3 separate regions of the Homo sapiens genome follow, and regions 2 and 3 are each linked to region 1. Evidence: promoter capture Hi-C in human tissues and cell types (Jung and others, 2019). All regions are on one chromosome and are shown on one strand. Each heading gives the region's core, a stretch centred on a gene start or on the middle of the fragment in contact. The rest is flanking DNA. Distances are from core to core; before and after follow the strand shown. Region 1 holds the start of SAP25 (Sin3A associated protein 25). Region 2 holds the start of EPHB4 (EPH receptor B4). Region 3 overlaps EPHB4 (EPH receptor B4).

The links. Contacts are between HindIII fragments. The study calls those that stand out against the background at their distance.
Region 2: the fragment with the promoter of EPHB4 here is called in contact with the fragment with the promoter of SAP25 in region 1 in 2 of the 25 tissues and cell types used here (IMR-90 fibroblasts and mesenchymal stem cells).
Region 3: a contact is called between a fragment that was not itself captured here and the fragment with the promoter of SAP25 in region 1, in 1 of the 25 tissues and cell types used here (spleen).

What each region holds. Positions count from the first base shown.
Region 1 is chr7:100,572,608-100,575,874 of GRCh38, forward strand. SAP25 (Sin3A associated protein 25) reads right to left here and starts at 1,293. Exons shown (of 6, transcript NM_001348680.2): 1 at 990-1,293; 2 at 690-793; 3 at 499-605; 4 at 253-406; 5 at 47-144. The coding sequence starts at 1,135. LRCH4 (leucine rich repeats and calponin homology domain containing 4) reads right to left here. Exons shown (of 18, transcript NM_002319.5): 16 at 3,264-3,267; 17 at 3,098-3,175; 18 at 1,404-2,697. The coding sequence ends at 2,500. RefSeq lists enhancers at 2,157-2,711, 2,712-3,265. The HindIII fragment of the contact is 26,041 bases long and covers 1-3,267 here.
Region 2 is chr7:100,825,699-100,828,965 of GRCh38, forward strand. It overlaps EPHB4 (EPH receptor B4), which reads right to left and starts at 1,825. Exons shown (of 17, transcript NM_004444.5): 1 at 1,281-1,825. The coding sequence starts at 1,332. It also overlaps a transcript of SLC12A9 not described here. RefSeq lists an enhancer at 1,829-2,624. The HindIII fragment of the contact is 16,187 bases long and covers 1-3,267 here.
Region 3 is chr7:100,809,377-100,812,643 of GRCh38, forward strand. All of the region lies in intron 12 of EPHB4 (EPH receptor B4), which reads right to left. Among named protein-coding and RNA genes, the nearest start is that of EPHB4, 17 kb to the right of the region's middle. The HindIII fragment of the contact is 4,931 bases long and covers 1-3,267 here.

The DNA of each region.
Region 1 (3,267 bases), core at 43-2,542:
AAGCCTGGAGGCTGGGGTAAGGACAGGGAGGGGAAAGAGCTCTCACCTGCTGGGGGGCCTTGGACAGGTACAGGGGAACACGCTGCCCCCGGGGCAGCAGAGGGTCCGAGAGGAAGACATCTTCACAGCACACCACCGGGAACCCTAGGAGGAAACACCACTAGGGTGGCGGGCTGCGGGCTCCCACCCCTGGGCACTGGTTCCCAGAGGAGTTGGGGCAGCCTTGCGCCCCCGGGGGACCAAGGGAGGTACCTGCATCTGGGGGCGCCTGCTGTCCATTCCAGTGCCCTGTGGCAGGGGCCACGGGCCTGAGACCCCTGCCCGAGGCTGCTTCATACAGCGGCCAGAATGAGGGGTGACACAGCGTCCGGCCTGAGAACGAGGCTCCTGAGCTACAGTTGGCCCCCTAGGGTGAGGAGGACAGAGCACTGGAGCCTCAGGCCACCGCACAGCTCCCTGAGCACCCCAGCCAGTCCCACAGGTTTGCCCCCAACTCACCCACACCGGCCGAGGTCCTGCTTTGGCTTCATACTTGGGGTCCCAGGGCGCTAGTGGAGTCATCCTCGAGGGGGCCACCTCCCAGGCCACCTGGGGGGAACGGGGATCTGGGGGGACGCTTGGGGATTATAACAGGCTCACAGTCAGTGAGAGGCTCTTAGGGGTAGTAGAGGCAGCAGGGCCTGTCCTACCTGGGGCTCCGGGGGGCTGCTCAGTGGCCGGGCCTGGCAGGTGGTGGGGCAGCAGCAGCTGCTCTCTCCAGATCCAGGAAGGGCTACGGGATGGGGGCTGTGGGCTGGAGGGGCAGGGACTGAGGCTGCAGCCACACCGCCCCCACGCACCCTCCCCTGGAGCCCAAGGGTGCCTGGTGCAAGGGAGACCGAGGGACCCAATCTCCAGCAGGGACAATGGAGAAGCCTCCGTAGAGCGCGTGGTGAAGGCATGGAGGCCCCCAGTCGCTGTCCCCCCACGGCTCCGTCCGAGCCCCTCACCTGTCCCATGGGGGTGTCCCCAGCTCCCTGGGGGCGTCCGCTCCGGCGCTCCAGGGCTCGCCCTGGTCCTTGCCCGCCGGAAGGCCTGGTCCCTCGGGCGCCTCCTCCGGGCCCGCGCCCCACCGCGGCGGCGACCAGGGCAACATTCCGCGTTCCCGAGCGCAGGACGGTACCGCCGTGTCCCCGCCGCCCGGCCCGGCCCTCTCAGCCTCCCTCCGCGGCGCGGCGCGAACGTGCCCTCCTGGCGAACCCACCCCAGAGGCCTCGCGGCGACGCTGGCGCCCTGTGCGTCTCCCGGCCACGTGGCGCGTGCCCCCGCCGGGCTCCCGCGGGCGCCCCCTGGCGACTGGGCGGTGAATTCCGGAAACAGAGGCCCCCCCAACAACCCCGCGACGCACGTGCTCTCAGACACAGTTACACCTGAGGGCCACCCAGAGGGCTTCTGGCTTCTGTTTATTGCGGCTGACACGACACCTGCGACACCCGCGGTCCTTCCACCCAGACCCTCGACCCCAGAGGCAGCCAGGCCGGCAGGCCAAGGGTGCCCAGGCCCAGGCCACCCTCACCACGTGCTTCTCTGAGAGCGCGGAGCCCAGGCGCGTCTTCTGCTCCCGGGGTCCCGGGCGGGGTGGGCCCTGTGCCCCCACCTTCACCCCTAAGGCCGGTCCAGCAGGGCGTGGACGACAGCAGCGATGTAGGGGAGGCCCCTTCCCGGGGCCCCCTCCTCTTCCAGGATGTGGTGGGGCTGGCACAGTGACTCCTGGGGGAAGGGGCCGGGTTAGCTTCCCCACGGTGCCCCCTGCGGCTTCCGGCCTGTGGCAGGGGGTCGGGGGCAGACCCGAGCATCACCGTGCGCTCGGGGCTCGGCGACAAATGAGACGCAAGAAAGCTGTCAGCGATAACAGAAGGGAGGTGACACGGGGGGTTGGCGGACGCTCCGGGAGCATGAGAGGCCGGCATCTCAGGAGGGAGATGCTGGTGGGCACAGAGCCATGGCCACAGCCACCAACACGCGGAGCAGACGCGCGCGCGCGCGCACACACACACACACAGGCAGGGCGGCCACGGTCTGTACAGTTTATACACAGAGATAGGGACCCGGCCTGGGCCCCGAACCCCTACAAATATAGATCCTCTCTACAAAATAGAGATAATTTAGCCCCCCCATAGCAGCTGTTGGGGGGGGAAGGGGAGGGCACAGGAGGAAGGGGGAGACTCCAGCTCCTGCCACCCCTCACGGGGTACAGAGGGCAGGGGCAGGGCCGGCGGGGACATGAAGGCACCGTCAGCACTGAGAGGTGGGGACTCGTGGGGCTACTGGAGGGAGGCCAGAGGCTGGGGGCCCAGGGTCTGGGGGCACCAGAGTGGGGCCTCTGAGGTCAGTGTCTGTGAAGGGGGTGCACTAGTGTCTTTGGTTGGGGCTGAAGGCACCGCAGGTGGGGTCGGGTGGAGCAGGGACCTTATAAATAGAGAGGAAGGGAAAGGGGTGAGGGAGGGCCGATTTTGGGGCCTAGGAACCCAGGAGCCGAGTGTAGGTGACATAGAGCAGCAGCATGAGGACCACGTAGAAGACGACGAAGCCGCCCAGACCAGAGGGGGGCCAGAGGGGCGGTAGGGCCTTGCCCCCCACCCGCTTCACGGCCTCCAGCGCGGTCCGCAGCCCCCGGGCAGTGCCCTGGAGGAGATCCGAGGGCGAGCACAGGTCAGCCTGGGGGAGAGGAGAGCAGGTGGACAAGGACAAGGGACAGACGTCAGCAGCAGCAGCAGGACAGTCCCTCCCACCCCTGCCCTCACGTGCTGGGGCCAGAACCACGCCCACATGCTGACGTGCTGGGCAGGGGGAGTGCAGTGCAGGAGGAGTGCAGGGCAGGGCATGTGCAGGACAGGTGACATGCAGGACAAGATGGGGCCTGCAGGGCAGGGGATGTGTAGGACAGGTGACATGCAGGGCAGGGGGCATGCAGGGCAGGGGGCATGCTGGGCAGGGCAGGGGCAGCCTGTGCCTTCATCTGAGAGCAGACATCCGCTGCAAATGGAAGCCCACCATCCATGCCACATGCTCGGCTGAGTCCGGCATGCCACCACTCTTTAGAAAGCAGCCCCCATACCTCAGGCACCCCCATTTTTCGACAGGCTTCTAGAAAACTCTCCACATTCTTCCGAGCCTTGAGGGCACTGAGTTTTGGCTGGGGTGGGTGAAAGAAGAAAATGTGGTAAGGGAGAGGCCACAGGCGCCCCGGCCCATCCCCCACCTCTTCCCCAGCCCCAACTGACCACA
Region 2 (3,267 bases), core at 575-3,074, 250 kb after region 1:
CAATAATAGCACCACCCTTAGCGTTGCTGGATGGGTGAAATTAATATTTGTAAGGCGCTCAGCACAGGCCTGGTGCTTGGAAACACTCAGGTAATAGGTGTCACAATCACCATTTCCTCTTTGCGTCTTTCCTTCTCACCACACCTCGTCCTCGTGGTTTTTCCACCCCTTTGGCCTTCCTCTTCCCCTCGTTCATGGTTTTTGTTCCCCCTTCTCCGTTCTCTGAGCTGGGCAAGCCTCCCCTCACTCCCAACCCCACACCTAGCCTTTGATCCCCAGCCCAGGGCAGTCCTGCCCAGCCAGGGGGAGAGGGTTTTTCTAACGCCGCTGAATCCTTCCCTTTGGGAGTCCCTCATAGCCTACCGCCCCATAACCACTTTCATACCAGACAGAGAAAGGGGGGTGTTGGCAGCTCACTGAAAGGACATTAGGGACACAGGAGAGTTTCTAGGGCTCTTGGCTCCCCCTTTAGGGGACCAGGAGGGACAGCGATCCATGGCCAAAGAAATGCTTGGAGAGACCAGGAGGTGGGAGATAGACTGGGTTAGTTAGGGCGATGTGGGGGCTGTGTAGGTCAGTTTCTACCTGGGGGCTGTGTAGGTCAGTTTCTACCCGCTCCTAGGTCTCAAGGGAAGCCCGGGACTCACCTGGGGCCGGGGTCTAGACCGCATTTAAAGGGATGGGGTGCAGCCTGTAGAAACCAAGGAGCCACCCTATACCAGGGGCAGGAGCAGTGGGCGGGAGAGCGGTTTGGGGGTTTGCTGTGTGAATGCAAAGGAGGCCATCCTGTTGCAGGAGTGTGGAACTGGAGGATCAAGGTGTGATCGCTAAGGAATTGGCGCTGGGGGTCGTTTTAGGGCCTAGCACGAAAAGTTGTGCCTTGTCTGCTGTTGCTTCTCCAGAAACCTTCCCTCATGTACGGCGGGAGGTGGGACTGGGACAGAAACTTTGCAGATAGTTTTGAATAGTGGGGTAGGGAGGAAAGGAAAGGCAGCCAGGGGCGTATGTAATCAGCAGTGAGAGTTCGGGGAGCCCGGGCAGGGGAATGTCCCGGGTCGTAGCCAGACTCCATCTCTTTCCCAAACAAAAGAAAACTCCACTACCCGTCGGGCGCCTCTTCCCCGCCCCCCTCCCGTTCCAGCACTATCGGTCCGAAGTGTTTGGGACTGCAGTGCCCGGGTAGGGGTAGTCAGAGGCCGGCCCCTCCACTCCGAGGCCCAGATGTTGGGGGGGAGGTCCCAGGAGTGACGGGGTGCGCCCCCCCCCGCAAGGAAACTCACCTTCCAAAGCTGCGGCCAACGAAGCCCAGCAGAGCAGCACCCGGAGCTCCATGGCGCCGCCTCACTCGGGTAGGATCCGAACTGAGTTTGGGGGGCCCTCGCCCCCCCAGGTCTGACTCTCCCTGGGCGGGTGGACGCCGATACTCCGCGCGGGACTCCTCGTCGGGGCCCTCAGCGCGGGCCCATGCGAGCGTGCGGGGCACCGGGCGGCGGCGCCAAGTGTGGCCCCGCGTCTGTGCCGCGCGCGCGGGCGGCGGGCCCGGAGCGTGCTGGCAGTGGCCGCGCCGGGCGGGCGCGCAGCAAGACGTGGCTGGAGTTGGGGTCCCTCCGGGGCCTCGGGGTCCCGCCCCGGGTGGCGGGGGCTGAGCCGGCCGCTCGCGGTCTCCCCCCCTCCCTGGAGTGGCTCTGCTCGCGCCGCCGGGCCGAGTGCTCTCCTCGCGGGCGGGGATGGTGGGAGCCCGAGCGGGGACGGAGCGGGAGGGAGGGAGACTGCGGCGCGGAGCCGGGCGGGCCGGGCCGGGCAGGGGCTGAGCTGCGCTGGAACTGGGCCGGGCGGCGCCGGGCCCGGGAGGGAGGGGCGCGCGGGGGGCGGGGGCAGCTCTCCCAACGCGGGGGCTCCGCGAGTGAGCCCCGGGCGCGCTGATTGGAGCTCACGCTACTGAATAATTCATGAGGGAAGCGGAGAGGGGCACCGAGTGGAGCAGGTCGGGAAGTTGAGAGAAAGTTTGGAGAAGGGGGAGGGGCGGCGGGTGAGGAACCCCGGGACCGCCCAGATGTGCGCCGTGGCGGTGCGCGCTGTCCAGGACCGAGCATGTCGGGGCTGGGGCCCAGGGACCCCCGGGACAGGCCCGAACCCGGCTGGCACCAGGGAGCAGAGAAAACACACACCCAGCAGCAACACGGAGGGCCGCCCAGGCGTGCACGTAAATGTTCACCGCGCACACAAAGCCCGCTCTGACCTTGCTGCGGACTCTAGATGCCGCTCTTGGATGCGCCCACCACCCTCTAGTGGGCGCAGGGACTGCGTTTTGGGGGAAAAGGAAGGAAAAGGGAGTAGAAGCTTTGGAGAATTGACGGCCGCCCAGGGGGCCTCAAGGAGCAATCCCAGTTTGGATAGCCTTGCAGCGAACGTTCACACAGTCACCCCATAAACATTCAGTGTTGGGGACCTACTGTGCGCGCAACCAAGCCCTGAAAAATGTCCAGAGGAGGCGCGCACTAAGCTGCGCTAGGGAGTAGAGAAAAATCGAGGAAACAACGGTAAAGAAAAGGTGGGTGTGGCGGGCGCGGTGGCTCACGCCTGTAGTCCCAGCATTTTGGGAGGCAGAGGCAGGCGGATCATTTGAGGTCAGGAGTTCAAGACCAGCCTGGCCAACATGATGAAACCCCGTCTCTACTAAAAATACAAAAATTAGCTGGGCATGGTGGCGCGCGCCTGTAATCCTAGCTACTCGGGAGGCTGAGGCAGGAGAATTGCTTGAACCGGGACCTAGGAGGCGGAGGTTGCAGTGAGCTGGGAGCTGAGATCGCGCCACTGCACTCCAGCCTGGGCTACAGAGTGAGACGAAATCTCAAAAAAAAAAAAAAAAAAAAAAAAGGTGGGTGTGTCCGAGAGGGTGAGGGGTCCGGCTAGATCTCCAAATCGCCCTTCTCACTCTCACTCTCGTGTTTTGGGGGGGCTTCCCCGCCGCCCGCAGCCATGACCCCTGAGGCTGGGGCTGCGGCTGCGGCTGCTGTCTTTCCTGAGCTGTTTCCTGTCTGGCTCCTGGGGGCCCTCGGGATGGCTGGGAGGGGCCCTTCCTCTCACTGCCAACTCCCCTCACCCTCCCATCAGTTAGCGGGGAGGGTCCAGCACAGCCGTGCTCCTCCCACCAACCCCCTTCTACTTCAGGGAACTTAACAGTATGGGTTACTGGATAGATGGATTGGAGGGGGTGCTGCTCCAGGAGTCAGCCCCTCCAAGGGGCAGAAGGAAAGGACTTAGACT
Region 3 (3,267 bases), core at 670-3,169, 240 kb after region 1:
GATCACAAGTGTGAGCCACTGTGCCCAGCTGGGATCCTCTTAAACTACTCTCCTGCCAAAGCCCTCCAGCGGGTTCCCGTCACACTGCCCAATGCAGCATCTACCATCTCTCCTCTGTTCACCAGTTTCACCTGTGCTGGTCTTCCCATCTCTCTCTCTTTTTAAGAGATGGGATCGCCCAGGCTGGAATGCAGTAGTGCAATGATGGCTCACTACAGCCTCGATCTCCCAGGCTTAAGTGATCCTCCCGCCTCAGCCTCCCGAGTAGCTGGGACTACAGATATGCACCATCATGCTCTGCCCATTTTTGTATTTTGTGTAGAGACGGGGTTTCACCATGTTGCCCAGGGTGATCTCTAACTCCTGGCCTCGAGTGATCCACCAGCCTCAGCTTCCCAAAGTGCTGGGATTACAGGTGTGTGTCACTGAACCTTTAAGACCCTTTCTGTCTCTTCGACCAGGCACGGTGGCTCACGCGTTTAATCCCAGCACTTTGGGAGGCCAAGGAGGGTGGATGGCTTGAGGCCAGGGGTTTCAGATCAGCCTGGCCAACATGGCGAAGCCCTGTCTCTACTAAAAATACAAAAATTAGCCGGGCATAGTGGCTCATGCCTGTAATCCCAGCACTGTGGGAGGCTGAGGTGGTGGGCAGATCACGAGGTCAGAAGTTCGAGACCATCCTGGCCAATATGGTGAAACCCTGTCTCTACTAAAAATACAAAAATTAGCTGGGCATGGTGGCACTCGCCTGTAGTCCCAGCTACTCAGGAGGCTGAGGCAGAAGAATCTCTTGAACCCAGGAGGCGGAGGTTGCAGTGAGCCGAGATTGTGCCACTGCACTCCAGCCTGGGCGACAGCAGGACTCCATCTCAAAAAACAAACAAACAAAACCAAAAAAACCCCACATCAGATAGAGCTTCTCTTACAGGAAATACAGAGAGACAAGCTAAATGATCCCATAAGAAGAATTTCATAAATCCAGAAATCAAGACATTCAGGCGGACAAGGGACCTAACCCTTCAGTGTGTCAGTGTCATCATGAGGAACTGCTCAAGATTTAGAGAGGCTCGAAAATATAATAATCAGCAGGCGTGGTGGCTCACGCCTGTAATCCCAGCACTTTGAGAGGTTAAGGAGGGAGGATCGCTTGAGTCCAGGAGTTTGAGACCAGCCTGGGCAACATAGCGAGACCCCCATCTCCGTAAAAAATTTAAAAATTAGCCAGGTGTGGTGGTGTGCACCTGTAGTTCCAGCTACCCAGGAGGCTGAGGCAGGAGGATCACCTGAGCCAAGGAGTTTGGAGGCTGCAGTGAGCTATGATTGCACCACTGCACTCTAAACTGGGCGAAAGGGCAAGACCTTGTTTCTAAAATAAATAAATAAAATATATATAATAACCAGGTACAAAGCCCGGTCTTGAACTGGATCCTGGTTGGAATAAAGCAGCAGTGAAGGACATCTTTAGAACAACTAGAGAAACGTGAAAATCAACTGGGTATTCAATGACGCTAGGGAATCGCTATAACTCTGTTCAATGCAATGTTATTTTGCTACATAGAAAAATGTTTTGATTTTTTTAAAAAGATGCCTAGGCCAGGCATGGTGGCTCATGCCTGTAATCCCAGCACTTTGAGGGGCCGAGATGGGTGGATCACTTGAGCCCAGGAGTTCAAGACCAGCCTGGGCAACATGATGAAACCCTGTCTCTACTAAAAATACAAACATCAGCTGGGTATGGTGGTGCATGCCATGCAATTCCAAGCTACTCAGGAGGCTGAGGCAGGAGAATCACTTGAACCCAGGAGGTGGACGTTGCGGTGAGCCAAGAACGCACCACTGCACTCCAGCCTGGGTGACAGATGGAAACTCCATCTCAAGAAAAAAGAAAAGCTTAATAAAGTTAAAAAAAAAAAAAAAGTCAGTAAAATCTGGTAAAGTGACCAAATAAATTAAGCAGTTCTCTTTCCTCTCTAGCCACATCTGCATGAAGGACCCCGTTTGCTTTTTTTCACATTTGAAATGATTTGTTTACTTTTTTAAAAAGCCTGTCTATTTACTTGCTAATTTTCAGTCCCCCTGCCCCATTAGACCCTCTGCTCCCCAAGAGGAGAAATCCAGTTTGCCGTGTGTATAGCTTTATTCCTGGGGACTGGGAGGATGACCGGTGCGTAGAAAGCACTCAGTAAATATTTGTCAAAAGAAGGAATGACAGGCCAGGCACAGTGGCTCATGCCTGCAATCCCAGTGCTGTGGGAGGCTGAGGAGGGAGGCTCGCTTGAGGCCAGGAGTTCAGACCAGCCTGGGCAACCTATCGAGATCCTGTCTCTACAAAAAATTTTAAAAATTTGCTGAGCATGGTGGTACATGAGTGTAGTTCCAGCTACTCAGGAGGCTGAGGCGGGAGGATCACTTGAGCCCAGGAGGTCAAGGCTACAGTGAGCTATGAATGCACCACTGCACTCCAGCCTAGAGGACAGAGTGAGACTCTGTCTTAAAAAAAAAAAAAAAAAATTGGCCGGGCGCGGTGGCTCACGTCTGTAATCCCAGCACTTTGGGAGGCCGAGGCAGGCGGATCACCTGAGGTCGGGAGTTCGAGACCAGCCTGACCAACACAGAGAAACCCCCGTCTCTACTAAAAATACAAAATTAGTCAAGCGTGGTGGCACATGCCTATAATCCCAGCTACTGGGGAGGCTAAGGCAGGAGAATCGCTTGAACCTGGGAGGCGGAGGTTGCGGTGAGCCAAGATCTTGCCATTGCACTCCGGCCTGGGCAACAAGAGTGAAACTCCATCTCAAAAAAAAAAAATTCAATTAAAACAAAATTAAAAAAAAAAAGAAGGAATGACAACCTTCAGCTGTATGGGGCAGTGGGAAAGGAAGGTCCCAGGAGCCCAGCCTTTCCCAGAGGGAAAATTAAAGGCAGAGGGCTGGCCAGGCGTGGTGCCTCACACCTGTAATACCAGCACTTTGGGAGGCTGAGGTGGGGAGATCACTTGAGGTCAGGAGTTTGATACCAGCCTGGCCTACATGGTGAAACCCTGTGTCTACTAAAAATACAAAAATTAGTCAGCATGGTGGTGCATGCCTATAGTACCAGCTACTTGGGAGACTGAGGCAGGAGAATCGCTTGAACCCTGGAGGTGGAGACAGCAATGAGCCGAGATCGCGCCACTGCACTCCAGCCTGGGCGACAGAGCGAGGCTCTGTCTTAAAAAAAAGAAAAGGCAGAGGACCAGGGCTTAGCCCAAGAGGAAAAGGCTGGAGG